Regions from separate parts of the Homo sapiens genome. Here all the other regions are linked to region 3. Evidence: promoter capture Hi-C in 16 types of primary human blood cells and fetal thymus (Javierre and others, 2016). All regions are on one chromosome and are shown on one strand. Each heading gives the region's core, a stretch centred on a gene start or on the middle of the fragment in contact. The rest is flanking DNA. Distances are from core to core; before and after follow the strand shown.

What was found. The method cuts DNA at HindIII sites, captures the fragments that hold promoters and counts their contacts. A CHiCAGO score of 5 or more calls a contact.
Region 1: the fragment with the promoter of MORC1-AS1 here is called in contact with the fragment with the promoter of DPPA4 in region 3 in 16 of 17 cell types (neutrophils, activated CD4 T cells, naive CD8 T cells and 13 more); the score reaches 17.3 in neutrophils.
Region 2: a contact is called between the fragment with the promoter of MORC1 here and the fragment with the promoter of DPPA4 in region 3, in 5 of 17 cell types (non-activated CD4 T cells, activated CD4 T cells, neutrophils and 2 more). The highest score is 6.7, in non-activated CD4 T cells.

What each region holds. Positions count from the first base shown.
Region 1 is chr3:109,100,176-109,102,903 of GRCh38, reverse strand. It overlaps MORC1-AS1 (MORC1 antisense RNA 1), which reads right to left and starts at 1,448. Exons shown (of 3, transcript NR_144461.1): 1 at 1,345-1,448. It overlaps MORC1 (MORC family CW-type zinc finger 1), which reads left to right. Exons shown (of 28, transcript NM_014429.4): 5 at 2,397-2,487. The HindIII fragment of the contact is 2,885 bases long and covers 1-2,404 here.
Region 2 is chr3:109,116,871-109,119,570 of GRCh38, reverse strand. It overlaps MORC1 (MORC family CW-type zinc finger 1), which reads left to right and starts at 1,437. Exons shown (of 28, transcript NM_014429.4): 1 at 1,437-1,576. The coding sequence starts at 1,512. The HindIII fragment of the contact is 4,037 bases long and covers 102-2,700 here.
Region 3 is chr3:109,336,162-109,338,861 of GRCh38, reverse strand. DPPA4 (developmental pluripotency associated 4) reads left to right here and starts at 1,316. Exons shown (of 7, transcript NM_018189.4): 1 at 1,316-1,398. The coding sequence starts at 1,345. RefSeq lists enhancers at 1,211-1,818, 1,819-2,427, 2,428-2,700. The HindIII fragment of the contact is 8,399 bases long and covers 1-2,700 here.

The sequences.
Region 1 (2,728 bases), core at 199-2,698, 240 kb after region 3:
TCATTTTGATTAAAAGTATTCTTGGTCTTTTATTGTTTAAATGAGAAAGAAGAGTTTGTAACAACAACAGAAAAAACCCATGCTGAAAAAAGTAATTTTTCACTTCTAGCCTGAATATTAAGTTCATTTTTTTGAATTCCTAAAATAAATGACAGAATATATGTGATATATTCTAAGGGAATTCCTTATGAAAAGAAGCAACTCTTTTTATATGGGTCATGAACAAAATGTTTGAAACACAGACAAGTGACGGATATTCAGACCTTCAGAAGGAACTCACACTTCAGTTACATAGTAGCATCAACTAGTAATAAAGTAGAAGGAAGATGACTAAAAGTAGAATCTATCCGTTGTTCAAACGGAGCTAGATCAATCTTGACCCATAGAAAATGACTACAGTACTTTCCGGGTTTTTAAAAAATTCTCTAGTCTTGCCCCTTTATAGTCCATTCCCCACACAGCATCCTGAGTGATTTTCTTTCTTTTAATGTACATTTTCCTGCTGAAAATGTACATTAATATCATTTTCCTGCTGAAAACCCTCAGTGGTTTTCCATTACTTAATACAATTTGTACTCTCAGCATCTCTTCCAAGACCTTACATTATTTGGCCCTATGCACCTCTTTGGCCTTTTCTTGTTCTTCCCACTTCCTCCCTTAGAACACTCCACCCACACATGGCTGACCCCTCATCGTTTGAATCCATCTCATGTTAACCATCTGCCAGTGGCCTTCCCTGATCATTCTGTCTGCAGGCCACGTTCCTGTTAATTCTCTATCGCATTACCCTGGTTTTGTTTTCTTCACTTAATACTCAGTCAGAAATGATCTTATTTATTAGTTTACTTTCAATCTGTTTCTCCTACCATGACATAGTGTTGTCCAAGGCAGGAGCCATGCCTGGCCTGTTCAGTGGTTTATTCCCATGCTCAGAACCGGGTAACCATGCACGTGAGTTCATGTAGTGTGTAATGAACACATGGGATTTGGTTCAGAGCTATACCATGTCTGTACCAAGACTTAGAACTTTGGGTTATAATCCTAGCTGTACCCTCTATCAGCTCTGTGACCTTGGGCAGGTTTTTAAAACTCCTTAGACTTACATTTGCTCATCTGTGACATGCAGGTCATAGTAATAATACCTTTCTTGTTTTGTTATAAATATTAAATAAGCTGTGCATGTAAGTATAAACATAGTACCTAGCATATACTAAACAATCAATAAGTGTTAGCTAAGATTGTCATTATGGATATCCTTACCTAATGCCTAACCCCTCATAGGAACATATCATAGGAGGTCCAGTTAGTTTCAGAGAAGCAGAATGTTTGGTGGCTTTTACACACCTCATACCATGTGCCACTGAACTATAGCATATCTGTACCCAGACTGACAGAGGGTCCTCAGGACAATTCTTCAGCATGTATTCAGGTAGGCCAACAAGAAGAACATTCTTGGTTCTGGAGATTGGTATTAATATATTCTGAAGTCCAGAGGATTACTGTCTAGAATTCCAGAATACCTGGAGAGGTCGGGAGAATGATTTGGAACGTCTGAAATGGTTAGCCTTCTTTCCCAGGTAGTATCAGAGCAGAGGTCATCCTGCCCCTCTTAGTCTCACATGGGCCTGGTTAAGGGCTAAATTCGTGGGGAAATTACTAGTGGTACAAGTAATTATAACACTTGTAATTTGGTAACACCCACCAAGTGCCAAGTTTTGTGTTCAGGATTTCACAAATACATCATCTCATTTCATTTGTTTCATTTATCTTCATCAGCAACACCGTGATATAAGTATTACGTAGTTGCCTCTTACACCACATGGAAATTAAGGCTCAGACTTTTAAACTCTACCTAAGGCCACATGGTTAGGTCTGTCTCATCTCTTTCAGTATACAGTTGTTTCTTAGTATCTGTAGGGAATGGATTCCAGGACCTTTCTAGGATACCAAAAGCTGTGGAAAGAAGATGGCACGGTATTTCCGTATAACCTATATATATCCTCCTGTATACTTTAAATCTTTTCCAGGTTCCTTATAATACCCAATGCAGTGTAAATGCTATTAAATAGTTGTTATACTTTGTTGTTTAGAGAATAATGACAAAAAAAAAGTCTGTACGTGGTCAGTCCAGACGCAATTTATTTTTTTCTGAATATTTTCAGTCCAAGATTAGTTGAGTCTATGAATGTGGAGCCTGCCGTACCTTGGGCTGACTGTAATACCATTAAGACCCTTGTCAGAGACTGTGGATTCTGATGAAAATCCTTGTCTCTGGGCTGACCCAAGAGCTATGGGTTTGTCCTGATGTTCTGAGGAATGTGAGGTCCTGACAGCTGGGCCTCAGGCCAGTGTCAAAGAGTCTTCCTAACCACCTTAAAAGTCACTGTCAATTACAGAGGAAGCTTCAGACATCATTTACTTTGGACGATCCAAAAAACGGCTGTCAACCTTGAAGTTCATAGGGCAATACGGCAATGGTCTTAAAAGGTGAGAATTTTTTTTCCCTTAAGACATATATTATTGATACTGGGAACACTGTTTATAAAGCAATTTACACAGAATGATGCAGGCATGTAAAGCTTTAAAAAATATATAAACTTGAGGCAGGGGTGACCTACTTTGTGTTGGAATCTCCATATACAAAACTGACTTTTTTTTTTTGAGACAGATTCTCACTCTGTCACCCTGGCTGGAGTGCAGTGGTGCGATCTTGGCTCACTGCAACCTC
Region 2 (2,700 bases), core at 188-2,687, 220 kb after region 3:
TTATAGGCTGGTGGCTCCGGTGCTCTTCCGATAGTAAATTGCTTTGAGATAGCAGCTGGAAATTGGGTAGTAAAATAAATCCAGAAGAGACTTGTCAAGCTTTTCTTGCTCATAAAATGAAAATAAAATATCGTATTTGTGAAGTTCTATAGAAGGAAAAATTGGAAAGATCGCTCAAGTTGCTTAGTAAAGAGAATTTTGCTGTCAAAACATCACCACATCAGCCACTGTTAAAACAAAAATGCAATCAGGAAAATTACTTGAAATGTTTATGTTTACTTCCAGTTTTGAAATTAGAACATCATGTTCCTTCGGGTTGCCATTCAAATTCTCTCTTCCTCTCCTGATTCCCATAAATGTAGTAGTTGATAAACTCCTCTCTTTGGAAGTAGAATGACTACTCCAAAACTATTTTTTTTTTCTTTTCTGAGAGCTTCACTGCCTGTATGATGCCTGGAAATTACAAACACATCTAGTTCAAGTTCTTTATTTAATAGATGTTTGTTTCTGACTTTATGACTATCATGTAAAATCTTTGCTGAGTATTATTGAACTACCTTGGTTTCCAAGTCAAAAGACATTGAATCAGCTTGGGTTTTGGTGACTTAAGAACTCAGGGCTTTGTGAGTAGAGAAACACCATTTATTTATACAGCTGTTCTACACATCTGCGCAGTCCTTCCTCATATTTATCTACCCGCCCCAACCCCGCACCCCTACCTTCTACCTGCCTAGTTCTATCTTTTGGAGCAATACCGAATATCTAGGCATTGAGCCAGGCCAGCAAGTGCAATAGTCGCATGTCAGCTGACAGGTAAAAAAGGTTAGTGATCCATTCAGGTGGGGGCAGCTATTCTCACCTAGGGACAAGCCGCTATATTAAAGTCCAAATTCTGTTCTGATTGTCTTTAGTTATTCCTTTTGTTTTCTCTCCGGCTTGTCACTTTTGTTTTTCATTTTTTCCTCCAAATAGAAAAAACATGATCAACTCAAGAGACACAGGAAGGTAAGTGCTAGGATTACAGGACAGAGCACTCTTACCTCTGGTTCTATGTAACACAATGGACAAGCAAAGAGAACTACCCACTCACCTTCCCCGCACTGTCCTGCCTTGCCGCCCACGTTCCCCCACCATCTTGTGTGAATGTGTAATCATTTCGAATCAAATTTTAATACCAGTTTTGGGCTCCATTTTCCAGCTGGGGAGTGATTGAGAGGAGCAGGGTGGGGAACAACCGTCTGAAAAAGTTACATAAACCTCAATTCCAGGAGACTCTAACTCAGATACGTCATTCTCAAATTGTGGCTCCAAGACCAAGCAACAAACCTCGCGAGACAACTGAGTCGACGACGCAGTGGGAGCTTCGCGGTCCCGCCGCAAGGGGGAGCACGTGTTTGCTGAACCCGCCCTCTGCGCGTGAGCGTGGGCGTGGGAGTGGGCGCGGGCGCAGGCGAACGGCTGCCGGTCAGGTGTCCTTGTCCCCTTGAGTTGCGCGGGTCGTGTTCGAGGGCATGGACGACAGGTACCCTGCGCTTCAGCGGGCCCAGCTGCGTCTGGATTTCATCCACGCCAACTCGTGAGTGCCGAGGTGGGGTCGGGGTCGGGGAGGGTCTCTGCGCCCGCCATGAAGAAAGGTTTTGCCCGTCCCCTGAGGAATACTCAGCAAGTGAACTTGATTTATGGATTTATTTATTTATTTGAGCTGTATAGGCTTTTTTTAAAACGATGAAAGCATAATAAAGATATATTCTGGGCCAGGCTGAACCCTTTAGGTGCTCTTCAGTGAACACCAAGTGGTTGGAAGGCCCTACATTTATCATTTAACACAACTGTTTAATTGTTGGTCAGCAGAACTGTGATTCTACCAATCCTGCCTAACCTTAGTCTGCCTAACACACTGACAATTTAAACATTAAAGTTGCCCTTCAAACAGAGTAATTTGCATATATTGATTTCAAACTCTATGGCCTCCTGAGTCTTTTCAAAAATGTAACCTCTCTAAGGATAGGAATCTCACCTTTTAGTTATTTGGTCATTTCTTCTTCTCTGCCATGCCTGTCTGCCTTTTAGAGCTTCTCAGGTGTCATTTCAGATAGTCAGATTGCAGAGGGGAATGACAGAGGTTTTTTCTCTCATCTGCCATTTCCCATACAGCAAATTATAGCAGTTAGTGCTATTTAATTCACAGTGGAACGTCCGGGTTTTTCTTTATGTTTCTTTTTTTTTTTTTTTTTTTTTTGACATCTTTTGGTAATTTGGATTTACTAAATATAGGAACAGATATCAGGGATGTACCAAATTTGAAACCACAGAAATGGAGGTATAAAGAAAGCCAGGGAAGGCCACCCTTGCTCTGTGGGACAGACTGTATAATTTTAACATAGCAGAGTTAAACAGGCAATATTCAGCAGATACTCAGTTTTCATCTCTCTTTAGAGAATGATGTCAAGCTGGAAAAGGTGGAACAAAAAGTTAAAAGGTAGCTGAGGTGGAAGACAAATGAAGAAATAATAGTTTCGAGTGAGTTTAAGAAAAATGCTCAGGGCAGTGCTGGAAGGACTGTGAATTTTATCTCAGAAAAATTCCTCAGCCTCAGTTTTATATGGATTTTGTGGCTACTGCTTCACAACCTCCATTCCCCCAAACCACCCTGTGGTAGCCACTTCCCCAGTACCATTTTCAACTGGTGGTGTAGTAACT
Region 3 (2,700 bases), core at 67-2,566:
AAAGATGATTCAGTTATACACTTTATACACAAACCTTAATTAGAAAGTCCTACTGGTGGTTACCAAAGGCTGTGGTAAAGAATTGTTAAATCAAAGCCCTAATATCTCCCAGATGACCTCAACTCACCTGGTTTCCTCTTTGCCGCCTTGGGGGTTGCCCAGTCCACAACCTGCACTTCCTTCTCTATTCCTGGGCTCCGTTTACTTACTTTTTCTGTCCGTGGATTTCTAGCCTGTGAGCAGATTACTAACACCATTTGGATAAAGACAGTCTCTTATTTATCATTTTAGGACAAGCAATGAGATGTAGGAAAAAAAAACAACAAAGTAAACCAAAGAACAAAAGAGACTTTGGACCCTGACAAGGGAGGGTTTCAGTCGCACAGCCACTGCTTCCTTCACTTCACATCTCTTGACAATCTGACAGGGAGCACTGATCTGAGGAAAGATTTTTCAAATTATTTTAAGGAGAAAAACTTGAACTTCTTTGGGAGTCAGTAGGTTAGGGGTTCACTTACTGTGCTATTGAAAAAGTTACCAATAAAAATTTATACCAACTTTAGTCATATATAAAATGGGGAACAATAATGACTGAATTTAAAACTCACAATTTGAGATATAAAAAAATACTCGGGCGGGGAGTGGTGGCTCACGCCTGTAATCCCAACACTTTGGGAGGACAAGGCTGGAGAATTACTTGAGGGCAGGAGTTCGAGACCAGCCAGGTCAAAATAGCCAGACCCCCCCACTTGCCCTCTACAAAATAAATAACAAATACTCTATAGACTTTAAAAGCTACTATTATTAGTTCGTTGGCAGATGAAAAGATGCTCGGTATTAGTACAGAGAAACCTGGAGTTTTAGTTGGTTGAGTAACTTACTTAGGAAATGGAATGTATTTGGTACGAGAAAATAGCTTTCTTCAAGCCGCCAGTCTGGTCTCTGAAGTCTACTGTTGCCACAAGTTCCATTATTAAATCCCTTCACACATCCTGCTCAAGTCTCTGGCCACTGTTTTTTTGTTTTTTGTTTTTTGTTTTTTTTCCCCGTAGAATCGTTCTGAAGGAGTGCTCAATCTCCCAATGTCTCCGGAACCATACTTTGGATAATTACATTTAAAGTGAACAGAAAAGGGCCAGGAATAGTATTAGTAATTCAACCCAGACAAAAGTCACCCCATGAATAAGAAAGAATGCAATTTTAGCATTTACAAATTGTGGGGGAGGGAACAGAAGGGGAGAAGAAAAGAAGAGGTGAGGTGGAGAGAAAAAGGGTCTTCGGGCGGCAGGAAGTGGGAGGAGACTTTGCAAATAGCAATCTTGGGGCAGGGGCCATTTTGGAAGCATGTTGCGAGGCTCCGCTTCTTCTACAAGTATGGAGAAGGCAAAAGGCAAGGAGGTCAGTACAGTTTTAGTGGATTTGTTTTCTGTCTGTCTTTGTGTTTCTGTCTTCCCTGGGCACTCCTGATTTTTCCTTTAAGGAGAAAAGAATGTGCCTTCGAATTTTCTCCTCTTGACTTTTTTTTTTTTTATTTTAAGAGTAAGGCCCAAGAATATGATTGCAGCCTGGTATATTGGAGTGAGCAGACAAGTAAGAAATGAGGTTTTCTAGGTTTAGTTGAGGAGGTTGAGTGTGTCAAAAGATGGGGAAAAAAAAAAAAGAGGCCGGGCGCGGTGGCTCACGCCTGTAATCCCAGCACTTTGGGCAGCCGAGGCGGGCGGATCACCTGAGGTCGGGAGTTCGAGACCAGCCTGACCAAAATGGAGAAACCCCGTCTCTACTAAAAGTACAAAATTAGCCAGGTGTGGTGGCGCACACCTGTAATCCCAGCTACTCGGGAGGCTGAGGCAGGAGAATCGCTTGAACCCGGGAGTCGGGGGTTGCGGTGAGCCGAGATCGCCCCATTGCACCCCCAGCTTGGGCAACCAGAGCGAAACTCCACCTCAAAAGAAAAAGTTAAAAAATTAGGTTTTCAGGTTTGTGTTTTGGAACAGGGTTTCACTTTTGTCTCCCTGGCTGGAGTGCAGTGGCACCATCACTATTCACTGTAACCGCCCAGGCTCAAACGATCCTCCCACCTCGGCTTACCAAAGTGCTACTGGGACTGCAGGCGCCCGCCGCTGCTCCCGGCCCGGGTTTTCTGTTTTGAAGAGGTGCTTAGTCCTGTCAGAAAGAACTAACTGAATATGGGGGCTAGAGGGAAATGGTAACAGGAGAAAAGGGTGTTAAAGGAAAGATTTTAGGAAGAGGTAATTGAGCTGAGTTTGGAAAAGAATGAAACCCCTTAATTTCCTTTAGACGGACACAGATCCTAAACCGAGGGTGCTGAGAATGAATTCGTCCCCTTTTCCCAGCGTCCTTAGGACCTAGGAGTAATCAGAAGCCAGACATTGGGAACAATGCAGACAGAAACTGAAGGAAGAGAGGATTTAAGACGTTGCACAGGCACTGAACGGCCATATCCGAGCGCTCTCAGGTCCTCTTGACTTGAACTGGGTCATTTTTAACTGTCTCGGTTTTAAGTCTTTTGTGAGGTCCAAAGTGAGTACTTTTTGTAAGGTTTATGCAAATATAAATTTCAAATCAAAATGTAGAACTGCTATAGAGATGTAAAAATGCCATACAAATGTTAATTTGTCCAGTAATCCACCCTGAAAGTGAAGAAAAGGATTTAGATTTAGGAGAAATTTTATTATATTA